2 separate regions of the Homo sapiens genome follow, and region 2 is linked to region 1. The links are contacts of gene promoters, found by promoter capture Hi-C in blood cells and fetal thymus (Javierre and others, 2016). All regions are on one chromosome and are shown on one strand. Each heading gives the region's core, a stretch centred on a gene start or on the middle of the fragment in contact. The rest is flanking DNA. Distances are from core to core; before and after follow the strand shown. Region 1 holds the start of BCCIP (BRCA2 and CDKN1A interacting protein). Region 2 holds the start of POLR3A (RNA polymerase III subunit A).

The links. The method cuts DNA at HindIII sites, captures the fragments that hold promoters and counts their contacts. A CHiCAGO score of 5 or more calls a contact.
Region 2: a contact is called between the fragment with the promoter of POLR3A here and the fragment with the promoter of BCCIP in region 1, in 1 of 17 cell types (naive CD8 T cells). The highest score is 7.6, in naive CD8 T cells.

The regions. Positions count from the first base shown.
Region 1 is chr10:125,820,472-125,826,430 of GRCh38, reverse strand. It overlaps BCCIP (BRCA2 and CDKN1A interacting protein), which reads right to left and starts at 2,885. Exons shown (of 7, transcript NM_078468.3): 1 at 2,709-2,885. The coding sequence starts at 2,873. It overlaps UROS (uroporphyrinogen III synthase), which reads left to right and starts at 3,173. Exons shown (of 10, transcript NM_000375.3): 1 at 3,173-3,402. RefSeq lists silencers at 2,121-2,340, 3,097-3,526 and enhancers at 2,817-3,016, 2,560-3,245. The HindIII fragment of the contact is 3,281 bases long and covers 1-3,101 here.
Region 2 is chr10:78,027,484-78,033,869 of GRCh38, reverse strand. POLR3A (RNA polymerase III subunit A) reads left to right here and starts at 4,355. Exons shown (of 31, transcript NM_007055.4): 1 at 4,355-4,506. The coding sequence starts at 4,463. RPS24 (ribosomal protein S24) reads right to left here and starts at 7. Exons shown (of 6, transcript NM_033022.4): 1 at 1-7. RefSeq lists enhancers at 1-207, 4,186-4,435. The HindIII fragment of the contact is 13,008 bases long and covers 1-6,386 here.

The DNA.
Region 1 (5,959 bases), core at 1,636-4,135:
GTAACCTAGTTTAAATGTTGAGAAAGTCCAGTTCAAATAAACCAGACACGGCAGCCACAAAGGATAAATTATTTTCCTGATTACAAGGGTGGGCAAAAATCAAAATCACTTCAAAAGTCCCTGGAATTGCCTAGAGCTTGACTTAGCCCATGGATTTGAGGTTACACTACATTTGCTTAGCAAATATTTATTAAGTATCAATCCAGGTACCAAGCACTGTGCCAGGCACTCAAGATGAAAAGGTTAGTAAGGCAGACACAAATGATCCTGCTCTCGTGCAGCTTACGATTTAGGAAGGAATATAGGCATTAAGGAAATATTCATAGAAATAAATGTAAGTGCTATAAAACAAAGGTACACAATGTTGTAACAACTTAAAAAATAAGAAGTCAGTCAGGAAAGCCTTCCTTGAAGTGACATTTGAGCAAGAAACCGAGAAACAGCAAAGAGAGTTCCTGGTACAGGGAACAGCACAAACTAAGGCCCTAAGGCAGAAGGAAATACAATGAGTACAAGGGACTAGAAGAATGAATGTGTAGCTGGGCTCCCTGATCTCTATCTGCAAGACAACAGAATCTAGAAGATGGAACTAAAATGCCAAAAACAAAACCTAGTTGCTTTTAAACACTAACAAGATTAGTCCTTGAGGACCCTAAATCAGACCTTGATAAGTGACACAATGAACCTGGGGCTCTGATGAAATAATATATTTAAAGGCACTTCAGGTTTTAACGGTTTCAGAATTTAGGTCTTAGCTGAAGAACATCGCAGAGGAAATCAGACCTCCTTTTACCTTGCCACCCTGACTATGTATATATTTAAGTCTTCCTTAATTGTAAAATTGCAAGGCCCTGGAATTGCTTAGAGCAATTCCAGCTCCAATTTGAACTCTTTAAGTCCAGCTTTGCAGACTTCAAATGCTAACTTAGCCAGATTATGTGAGCAGCAAAACACAAGGGGTCGGGTGGGAGTGTTCCAAACAGGATCAAACTAAACCAAATAACAAACTGTCATTATTCAGGACTTAAACTTATTCCTTAGATATAAATACATTCTGTAAATAATGCTCATCTAGTGTTTTTTTCTTTGTCTAGACAGACATCTCGGACCTCTGTCCCAGACTATTATGGCACCACCAGGGAAATGGGCGGCAAATGGATTATCTGTCCAGCACCCTTTTCCTGGGTATGGGCTCATCTCCACATGGCTTCAGCAGGAACAGTCACGTTTGTAGAAAAGAGCCCTGTCCCTCATTCCCAGGTGATTTAGAATTAAGACTGTGGTGGTGTGATAGATTTCCCATGTTAACACAAGCAGCATTGATTTCTATAACCCAAAAGTAATAAAAGAGCCAGTCAAAGTTCTAAGTGAAAAATGGTGAGATGGCATTCAAGGCATAGAGCCAAAGTAAAATTTGTAAGGGAAGGAAGATTGATCACATACCCACACCATGGTGTCACCTCTAATCCTGCATCCATGCTTCTCTCCATGCTCCCCTCCATGCTCATCATGACTCATGATTACCTCTCTGATTTTATTTCCTATCACTCTCTCTTCCTTATTCTGATCCAGCCATCTAGGCTGCCTTTCCGTCCCTCAATTGTGAAGACTCTTGATTTTCTTGTAAATGAACTAGAAAGCCAATGCAGCAATCTAAGCAGAGGCCTGAGATCAGACCTATAAGATCTCTCTGACTGTAAGTGGAGTATAGACTGATTGTAGGGGAACAAAAATGGAGAAAAGAACGCCGGTTAAAAGCTGTTACATTAAATAGTAGTCCAGGCAAGAGATGATAGAGGTGTGGACTACGATGGTCTCAGAATTAGTGCTGAGAAATGTCTGGATAACAGGATTTACTGATGGGCTGGATATAGGATGAGGAAAGGGAGGAATTAAAGTTAAGCCCCAGGTTTTGGGTTAGAGCAGCTGGTGACTTTAGGGGCCATTTATAGAAATGGTGACGATTAAGAGAGGGGCATGAATTATTATACAAATTCTGCTTTGGACAAGTTAAGGCTGAGGTATCTATTTAAACATTCAGTAGGCTGAAGGATCATTCAGTCCTAATTGTTTACTAAACAAATAATAAGTACCTATATTGCCAGGCACTACGGTAGGACCTAGTCTGAAGAAAGGAACACAGTTCTATGAGACTATGAAACCAAAGATTTACCCACGACTTGGTCAGCTGCCCCAGGAGCCAGAAAATACAGCCTAGCTGAGATCTGAAGAAGGAAGGGAAAACTGCAGGATAAAGAAGAGCATTTGAAAAGGCTTCTACGGTAGAACGCGGCAAGAGCCTTCAAGAAACTGAGGGCCCAAGTGAGTGCCGCCCGCAGAGTGAAGAGGAGGACAGCTGCTGCCCCGAGGGGAGAGGGCCCCCTCTGCGAGCCCGGGGTGGCCGATTCAGGATCTGAGGCTTCAGCCTGAGAACTAAAGAGGACGAGAAGAACACACCTGTTGTGGCGGGCTTTTTCGGGGAGGACGCGGGTTGGGAGATTAACTGGACCGGACTAGACCTTTAAAAAATAACTACTATGGCTGCAGTGTGTTAAAGACCGAGGAGAAACCTGAGAAAGAACTTATCTCCAGTTTCTCCTCACAGACCCTCAGGGTCAGGGAAGACCCTACACTATTTTTACACAGCCTGGGCTTGCCAAAAAGTTTTTCTCAGGTATAAACCAACTAGGGGAGCGTGTCCTTCTCACCTCGTCAATGACCTCGTCCTCTTCATCCTTTTCCTTGTCACTGTCATCATCGTCTTCATCCTCATTTTCGACTTCTTTTTCCTCTTCCTCGTCGCGCTGGACTGGGGGATCCGGCGGCTGCGGAACCCCACTTTCCACGGCACGCCGCTTAGACCTGGACGCCATGTTGCCGCTCACACTGCGCCTGCGCAGCTTCCCCTTGCCTGACCTTCCGGACCAGCCCATAGTAGCCAAGGGGGTGAGGAACTACGAAGAAGCTCGGCGCTGAGTGCACGTCAACCCCAATGCCCCTGCTGGATTCCGCAGCCATGACCCCTTACAGTCACGTCCAGCTTGCGGTCCCATCTTGCTTTTTTCTTCCGCTTTCCACCCTCCATCACTCCTCCCAAAGCTTCCCCTCCCCTTCCCGTAGTGGTTCAACCCATCTAACCTCTGGCCTCATTCCGTGGCCTGGATGGCGGTGCGCATGCGCGAGCGCCTAGCTGCGCGCAGCCACCCACGCGACCCCAGTCTGAGGTGCGGGGTCCTGGGGCCCGGCGCGGGTGGCCGCCGCGGCCCCTCGGGCTGCGTGGGGAGGGGGCTTCCGCCCCTGTTGTCATTGCTCCTGCAGCCTTTTCGCTGGGACTGCGCGACACCGCCCCCCGACCGGGTGCCCGCTGTGTGCCAGGCCGGGTGCTGGGCACGGTCCCGCGAGGTAGGTGTCGCCGCCCGCTGTACCGGTACGGACGCCGAAGCCCGCGGGCGTGCAGGGGCCCGGCCCCGGGCGGTGTGTGACACAGTGGGGCCAGGGCCCCGAGGCTTCCGCGGACCTGGGCCTGCCCAGGCGGGGATGTCCGCTGCCGCTACCGCTGCGCCGGTGACGGAAGGCGCCTGCCCAGCCTACCCTCGCCGAGCTTCTGGAGCGCATTTCTTGACCTAAAAGTTTTTTTAAAGCCGGCACCGCAGTTAAAAATGCTTCGGCGGGGGGCCGGGCCCGGTGTCTCGCGCCTGTAATCCCAGCACTTAGGGAGGTCAAAGCGGGTGGATCACCAGAGGTCAGGAGTTCGAGACCAGCCTGGCCAACATGGCAAAACCTCATCTCTGCTAAAAGTACAAAAATTAGCCGGGCGTGGTGGCGGACACCTGTAATCCCAGCACTTTGGGAGGCCGAGATGGGTGGATCACTTGAGGTCAGGAGTTCGAGACCAGCCTGCCCAACATGGCGAAATCCCATCTCTACTAAAAATACAAAAACTAGCCAGGTGTGGTGGTGCGCGCCTGTAGTCCCAGCTACTCAGGAGGCTAAGGCAGGAGAATCGCATGCCCCCAGGAGACGGAGGTTGCAGTGAGCCGAGATCGCGCCACCGCACTCCACACTCCAGCCTGGGCGACAGAGGTAGACCCTATCTAAAAAAAAAAAAAAATGCTTCGGGGCCAGTGGGGTAGTCTAGGTTAAAGACCCGAGCCTATTTGGAGAGAAGAGTGGAGGGGACTGCGGCCAACTGCAGAGCGAGCGCCAGCCCCTGTGGCAGGTGGGGATGCAGCCTGGGGCAGCCAGGTCTTCCCATTGCGAGAGAAACAGGGTTCATCAGCTTTCTAGGAATAAGATCTGCGGTTCTCAATTGATTTTTCTCTGTAAAATGAGGGGGGTGGGTTGGATATGTTTGATTCTAGGAATGGTGTGAGCTGCGCTAATAGGCTGCTTCTGTTTAAGCAGGGTAACATCTGATAAATCAGTGATCCTTCATCAGTACGAGATGGCGTGCCCTAAAGGTCCCCAGGAGCCCAGATTGCCCATAATCGTGTTCTGTGATTTCGGTCTTTCCTGGGAGTCTCTTGTCTACCCAGCCATGTCATGGATATTAAAGTAATACTTACACATCAGCGCTCCACATCTGATGGGGCAGCTTGAAATGGCCTCTTTGGGTCGCACAACTGCAAAAACATGTTCCTGTAATGGAGAAGAGAGGAAGCTGTCAAAAAAGACCCATCAAAAGGCTAAGATTAGAAAAAAGACTCAGAAAGACCATGTGAACATATCAACAGAGTTGCACTGAGATACCATAGCCAATTTTTTTTCCTGTTTCTTTATACTTTTTTTATGGTGGTAAAAGATACATAACATACATTTTACCATCTTAACTATTTTTAAAGATACAGTTCAGTGGCATGAAGTGCATTCACATTGTGCAACCATCACCACCACTATCCATTGGCAGAACTCTTTTCATCTAGCAAAATTGAAACTGTAGTTAAACAACTCCCTTATTTTCCCTCCATGACCTTTCTACTTTCCATCTTTATTAATTTGACTATTCTAGAAACCTCATGTAAGTGGAGTAACACAATATTCTTCCTTTTGTGACTATTTCATTCAGCATGATGTCTTCAAAGTTTATCCCATGCTGTAGCATGCATTAGGATTTCCTTCCTTGTTAAGGCTGAATAATACTCCATTGCATGTATAGACCACATTTTGTTTATCTACTTATCTGTCGGTAAACATTTTGGTTACTTCTACATTTTAGCTGTTGTAAATAATGTTGCTATGAACATGAGTATCAAATATCTGTTCGAGTCCCTGCTTTCAATTCTTTGGGGTATATATGTAGCAGGGGAATTGCTAGATCATATGGTAATTCTATGTTTATTTTTTTGAGGAACTATACTTTTTTGTAGTTTGCAAATCTTTCACAGTAAACAGGATCACTTTTGTAAGACAAGTAGGGGAAAAAGCCTTACTTTATGCCCTCAGATTAGTTCCCAGTGTTGAGCTCATGGTCAAAGTGTGAATTAGAATAGTGAATGTGAAAGTAAATACAGTACTGACCCTAGGGAACTGAACTCAGCAGGTAGTAGATTGCTTACCACTCGTTCAGTGTTCATCTTTAGCTCAGAATTTATCTTAATGAGGCAGAGGGATGGTAGCAAGTGGTTAGGAGACTGAGCATGGGCTTCAGACCAGGATCCAAATTCCATCTCTCCCACTTACTGTGCTGTGTGACCTGGGACAAGTTACTCAAACCTCCCAGGGACTTGGTTTCACCTCCTGCAAATAAGGCTAACACCACCTACCTTGCAGGTTTAAGTGAGGATTGCAGTCTTGCATGTAAAATGCTTAGCCCAGTGTGATAGTTACTTTTACATGTCATCTTGACTGGATCACGGATGCCCAGATATCTGGTTAAACATTATTTCTTGGTGTGTCTGTGAAGTTGTTTTCAGAAAAGATGAGCATTTGAATGGATAGACTGAGTAAAGTGGATTGCCCT
Region 2 (6,386 bases), core at 3,106-5,605, about 48 Mb after region 1:
AAAAGAGAACCACGATTCGCCGGCCAATCATATCAACGCGCACGGAAGGACCCCGGGAAGAGCCGGCGTGGGGGCGTGGGCGCGCCACGAGGCTGACCGCGCCGATGCCTGATTTAGGCTGCCTACGGCCCCGCCTCACAGACTTTTGGCCACACCCCTGGAACTCTAGACTGACCAATCCAGAACCAGAACAACTCGAGCCGACTAGGTTTACGCAAGCAGGTGTTCAATTTCAGTTCAATTCATTATGTTGAATTGTACGTATTTGAATTCCGGTAAACCAAATTAGTTTAAATTGCCTTCTTCCGAGTTAGAGGTGGGTAAACTTGGAAAGCATTTTAGGATATCCTCTCTAACAGTCTCCTCGTTATATGGCTAGGGAAACTGCAGAAACCCTGACTCTAAAACCTTTGTTATTTCAAGTACTTAACATTGCCCATTCTAATTTATTATTCATGAGTATTATTTCTGTGACTTTTATGACGAATCTTTACTTTAAAAGATCTCTTTAATTTGTATTTTTCTGCAAATCTTGGTCATTATGCAAAATTAGATTTTGAAAAATATTTGGCCGGGCGCGATGGCCACGCCTGTAATCCCAGCACTTTGGGAGGGCAAGGCGGGCGGATCACCTGAGGTCAGGAGTTCGATACCAGCCTGGCCAACATGGCGAAACCACGTATCTACGAAAATAAATAAATAAATAAATACAAAATACAAAATTAGCGGGGCGTGGTGGCTCATGCCTGTAATCCCAGCTACTCGGGAGGCTGAGGCAGGAGAATCGCCAGAACCCGGGAAGCAAAGGTTGCAGTGGGCCGAGATCACACCATTGCACTCCAGCCTGGGCAACAGGAGCGAAAATCCGTCTCAGAAAAAAAAAAAAAAGAAAAGAAAAAAAAGGAAAAAAAAATTGGAAGCCAGGGGCAGTGGCTCACGCCTATAATCCCAACACTTTGGGAGGCCGAAGCAGGTAGATGACCTGAGGTCAGAAGTTCGATACCAGCCTGGGCAAAATGGCGAAACCCCGTCTCTACTACAAAAAAAAAAAAATTGGCCGGGCGTGGTGGTGCATGCCTCTAATCCCAGCTATCTGGGAGGCTGAGACAGGAGAATCGCTTGAACCCGGGAGGCGGAGGTTGCAGTGGGCCGAGATCGCACCATTGCACTCCGCCTGGGCAATAAGAGCGAAACTCCGTCTCAGAAAAAAAAAAAAAAAAAGGAAAAAAAAATTGATTGCTCCAGAAATATTTTCTTTAACGTGAAACAGACATGTAAAGAATGTAAATATATATGTTCCGGAGAAATAATAAGAAGAATTTCCCAAATGTTAGTGCAGACGAGGTGTCCAAGGTGCAGGCTTTGCGGGCAGCTTTCCTATTTTCTTTTTTTTTTTTTCCTGAGACAGAGTCTAGCTCTTGTCACCCAGGTTGGAGAGCAATGGCTTCATCGCGGCTCACTGCAACCTCGACCTCCCGGATTCAAGCGATTCTCCTGGCTCAGCTTCCAGAGTAACTAAAATTACAGGCCTGCGCCACAATGCCCAGCTAATTTTTGTATTTTTAGGAGAGACGGGGTTTCACCATGTTGGCCAGGCTGGTCTCCAACTCCTGACCGCAAGTGATCCGCCCCCGCCTCGGCCTCTCAAAGTGCTGGGATTATAGGCGTGAGCCACCGTCCCCGGCCGACTATTTTTCTTTTTTTTCGTTTTTTGTTTTTTTTTTTTTTTTTGAGACCGCATCTCGCTCTGTCACCCAGGCTGGAGTGCAGTGGCGGGATCTCGGGTCACTGCAACATCCGCCTCCCAAGTTCAAGCGATTCTTCTGCCTCAGCCTCCCGAGGTGACCAACTATCCTTATTCTTAAGAAAATAGTCAGCCGGCTGGGCACGGTGGCTCATGCCTGTAATCCCAGCACTCTGGAAGGCCGAGGCAGGCAGATCACGAGGTCAGGAGTTCAAGACCAGCCTAGCCAATATGGTGAAACCCCGTCTCTACTAAAAATACAAAAATTAGCCAGGCATGGTGGTGCGCACCTGTAGTCCCAGCTACTCGGGAGGCTGAGGCAGAAGAATATTTATTGAGTGATTGTAATGTGCCTGTTACATTCTAATTACTTTTACCTTCATTTTGCTATTTAACCTTCCCATTGACTCTAAGAAATAGGATACATATTACTCACCCATGTTATAAATGGGGAAACTAACACACAATAAGATTAAATAACTTTCCCAAGTTCACACTTTATATACGTGTATATATACACGTATGTGTATATATACACATATATCTATATCTATATCTATATATATATATATATATATTTTTTTTTTTTTTTTTTTTGAGGCAGAGTCTTGCTCTGTTGCCCAGGCTGGAGTGCAGTGGCACAATCTTGGCTCACTGCAACCTCCGCCTCCCGGATTTAAGCGATTCTCCTGCCTTAGCCTCCTGAGTTGCTGGAATTACAGGAATGCGCCACCACACCAGGCTAATTTTTGTATTTTTTAGTAGAGACGGAGTTTCACCATATTGGTCAGGCTGGTCTCAAATTCCTGACCTCATGATCTGCCCACCTCGGCCTCCCAAAGTGCTGAGATTACAGGCGTGAGCCACCGCGCCCGGCCTGCACAACTTTATTTTTTATTTTTTTTTATTTTTGAGATGGAGTTTCACTCTTGTCGCCCAGGCTGCAGTGCAATGGCATGGTCTCGGCTCACTGCAACCTCCACCTCCCAGCTTCAAGCGATTCTCCTGCCTCAGCCTCCCGAGTACCTGGGATTACAGGCGCACACCACCAACCCCAGCTAATTTTTGTATTTTTAGTAGAGATGGGGTTTCACCATGTTGACCAGGCTGGTCCCGAACTCCTGACCTCAGGTGATCCGCCCACCTTGGCCTCCCAAAGTGCTAGGATTACAGGCGTGAGCCACCACGCCTGGCTGCCTACACAACTTTAAATGGTGAAAGCTAGACTCCCATGATGGCACTGTGATTTCATAACTTTTGCTCTTAACCTCTAGATAAGTCACACACGATCCAACCCTTGTTGGTATAATATTGTAAACATCAGAGCCGGGTGTGGTGGCTCACACCTGTAATCCTATCACTTTGGGAGACTGAGGCGGGCGGATCACGAGGTCAGGGATTCGAGACCAGCCTGGCCAACATAGTAAAACCCCGTCTCTACTAAAAATACAAAAATTAGCTGGGCGTGGTGGCGGGCGCTTGTAGTCCCAGCTACTCGGGAGGCTGAGCCAGGAGAATCGCTTGAACCCGGGAGGCGGAGGTTGCGGTGAGCCGAGATTTCGCCACTGCACTCCAGTCTAGGCGACAGAGCGAGACTCCGTCTCAAAAAAAAAAAAAAAAAAAAAACAAAAAAAACCCATAATGTTGACTATATATATATATATATATATATATATATAGTCAACATTATTTCATGATTAAGTGATGGAGTACCGAAATGAGTTAGAAAAACCTGATATGCCTCGTTTGTCTGTGACATTGTGTTTTGCTAGTGAGGATCCATGGCGTCTGAAAATGAGATAGCGTCCCTTCTTAAAAATTGAAAGTTGTTAAACACTTTTGTTAAGTTCTGTTTTGAGTTTCTCACAAATAATGAGGACTTAGTTCTAATTCTAAGCGCTAAGCCCTGTGGTGATGTGATTTCCTTGCTAGGCTCATGCACTAATATATCACACTAGGATCACCTCCCACAAGTTCTCACAGACTGTAGACAACTTATTTCAAGACATGAATGATCTTTACTTTCCATTCTCCCTTTTCTTCTGTAGATTACCATGGCTGTTTTCACTCTAACAGATTTTCAACTGTTTTTGTAATCAATAATGTAAGTTTAATTCTTCCCCCCTCCCTCCAAATAACTTCATGAACTGGAGGCACATGTGCGCCCATATTTTCCGCTCTGTTTTCCTTTGTTGGTCCTCCACAGATAGTGCCCTCTGTTGGATGGGCCGGTTCATTTTAGCTTCCACCTTCCCTTAAAACAATTAGAAGCTCTTAATTTAGATGGTACTGATGTTAATGATGATGATTTTCCATTTTATGCAAGTTTTGGCCCTCTGCTTGTCTAAAAGCCTTGAGGCAAAGAGTTATATGCAGTTTCTCTGCGGGTGTCTGATTACGTGGAGAAATTGACCAGAAATGGGATTTTTAAAATACAGCACACGCCTCGGTGCGGCTTCCAGTAAGCGCCACCAGGTGACGGTGCGGGGAAAGGGAAAAAAAAAAAAAAAAAAGGCATGCCGGAAGTCTCTCTTGACAGACAGACGCGCGGGCGAGTAGCGGAAGAGGAAGCGGACACGTGGGACACTCTACGGTGGCCGAGAGGATGCCGCAGATGTGTTAGCGGCGAGTCCAGAAGCAGCCCCAGGAGGTGCTGGGGGCATCGTTTCTCTAATCTGGCCTCCCGAGTGCCAAGGAGGCGTCCCGGCAGCGGTCATCATGGTGAAGGAGCAGTTCCGGGAGACGGATGTGGCCAAGAAAATGTAAGACGGAGTAAGAGTGGCCAAAGGGCTGAGAAATAGGGCAAGGGGTCCGAGGTCAGCGGTCCCGGGTCTTGCAGGGTCAGAGATGGGGTGCAATGGGAAGGGGAGGGCCAGTAGTCCATAGGTGTGACCAGCGCCCAGAACTACCAGCGTTGGTCAAAGAGCATTGGTCAGGCTGAGGGGATTTCAGCACCTCGAGAGGTCCCTGGACTTGGGCGGAGAAGTCGGAGTGGCCTGAGCCTTAATGATTTGTGCACCCTGGGCCAAAGCTCGCATTCTCCTGAAGTCATACAATGATCCCTGTTCTTCAGCGAACTATCCCCTGCTGCAGCGAGGGGAGCAATCTGGGGCGGGGACTGTCTCTAATTCTGTCAGCCGCAGAGCGTCTGACACGGAGGCAGTAGTTGCTTACCAAAAGGATGGGGTTGCCCACTAGAAAGCTGTACCACAGGCCGACGGATGGCAGTGTCAGAAATAAAGCTGCTATCCGGACTTTTGCCTTCAGAAATACGTTATTAGGCGGTGGCTCCTTCTTAGAGTTCTCGGTAAGAAAGTGAATCCAGCCGGGCGCGGTGGCTTACTCCTGTAATCCCAGCACTTTAGGAGGCCGAAGCGGGTGAATCTCCTGAGCTCAGGAGTTTGAGACTAGCCTGGGCAACGTGGCGAAACCCCGTCTCTATCAAAAATACAAAAATTAGCAGGCGTGGTGGCGCGCCCTTGTGGTCCCAGCTACTCGGGAGGCTGAGGCCGAAAAATCACTTGAGCCTGGGAGGCAGAGGTTGCAGTGGGCAACCTCCTGCATTCCACCCTGAGTGACAGAGTGAGACGGTGTCTCAAAAAAAAAAGTGAATTCATCATTCTTACAGCAGACACTGAGGAGGATACTGCGCGTTATTCCCAGTGTTGGACGTTAAAGATACGGTCTGAATAAAACTTTTACTGCCTAATCTAGTTGGAGAAGGTACACAAGTCAACACTGGGTACGACAAGTGCAATGACAAGGGTAGGTCCAGGGGGTTTTGAGAGCACATAATGGGTCCAGGCAAAAGAAAGCAGACCAAACTGCTTTTTTCAAGGAGCAGACCTGAGGGAGAGAACACAGGTGATCAGAAGGAAGCAGAAGACTTGAAGCTGTGTTAAGAAGTCATCTTGTAGGCAGTGAGGAACCTTTGAAGGATTTTCAACAGGAGAGTATCTTGATAAGAGTTCTCCTTCTGGAAAATCTCTTGATTCATGGTGGAAAGAATTAGAGGTCGAGAGACCTTGAGACGGATATACAGAATGCCTTGCTTGGGCAGCTGTGTGGATGGTTGCCATTCACTAGAACAGGTGTCTTACCTAGGTGAATGCAGCATTCTCCCATGTGGTAGCTCTACATCGACACTGGCCCTTCACACCCACCTGTACACCTGCGCCCAGTCAGATATAATACATTCTCACAAAACAGAGAAAGTGCTTCTGTCAAAGTGCAAATTAAGGGTATTGTCAATTAAAATCCTCTAGCAGAGGCCAGGAGTGGTGGCTCACGTCTGTAATCCCAGCACTTTGGGAGGCCATGGCAGGCAGATCATGAGGTCAGAAGTTCAAGACCAGACTGGCCAATATGGTAAAACCTCATCTCTACTAAAAATACAAAAATTAGCTGGGTGCGGTGGCGCATGCCTGTATGCCTGTAACCCCAGCTACTTGGGAGTCTGAGGCAGGAGAATCGCTTGAACCCAGGAGGCAGAGGTTGCAGTGAGCTGAGATCGCACCACTGCACTCCAGCCTGGGTGACAGAGCAAGACTCTGTCTCAGGGAAAAAAAAAAATCCTCTAGCAGCTTTCCATTGTGTGGGCCATCACGCCTAGCAAATTTTTTGTATTTTTAGTAGAGACAGG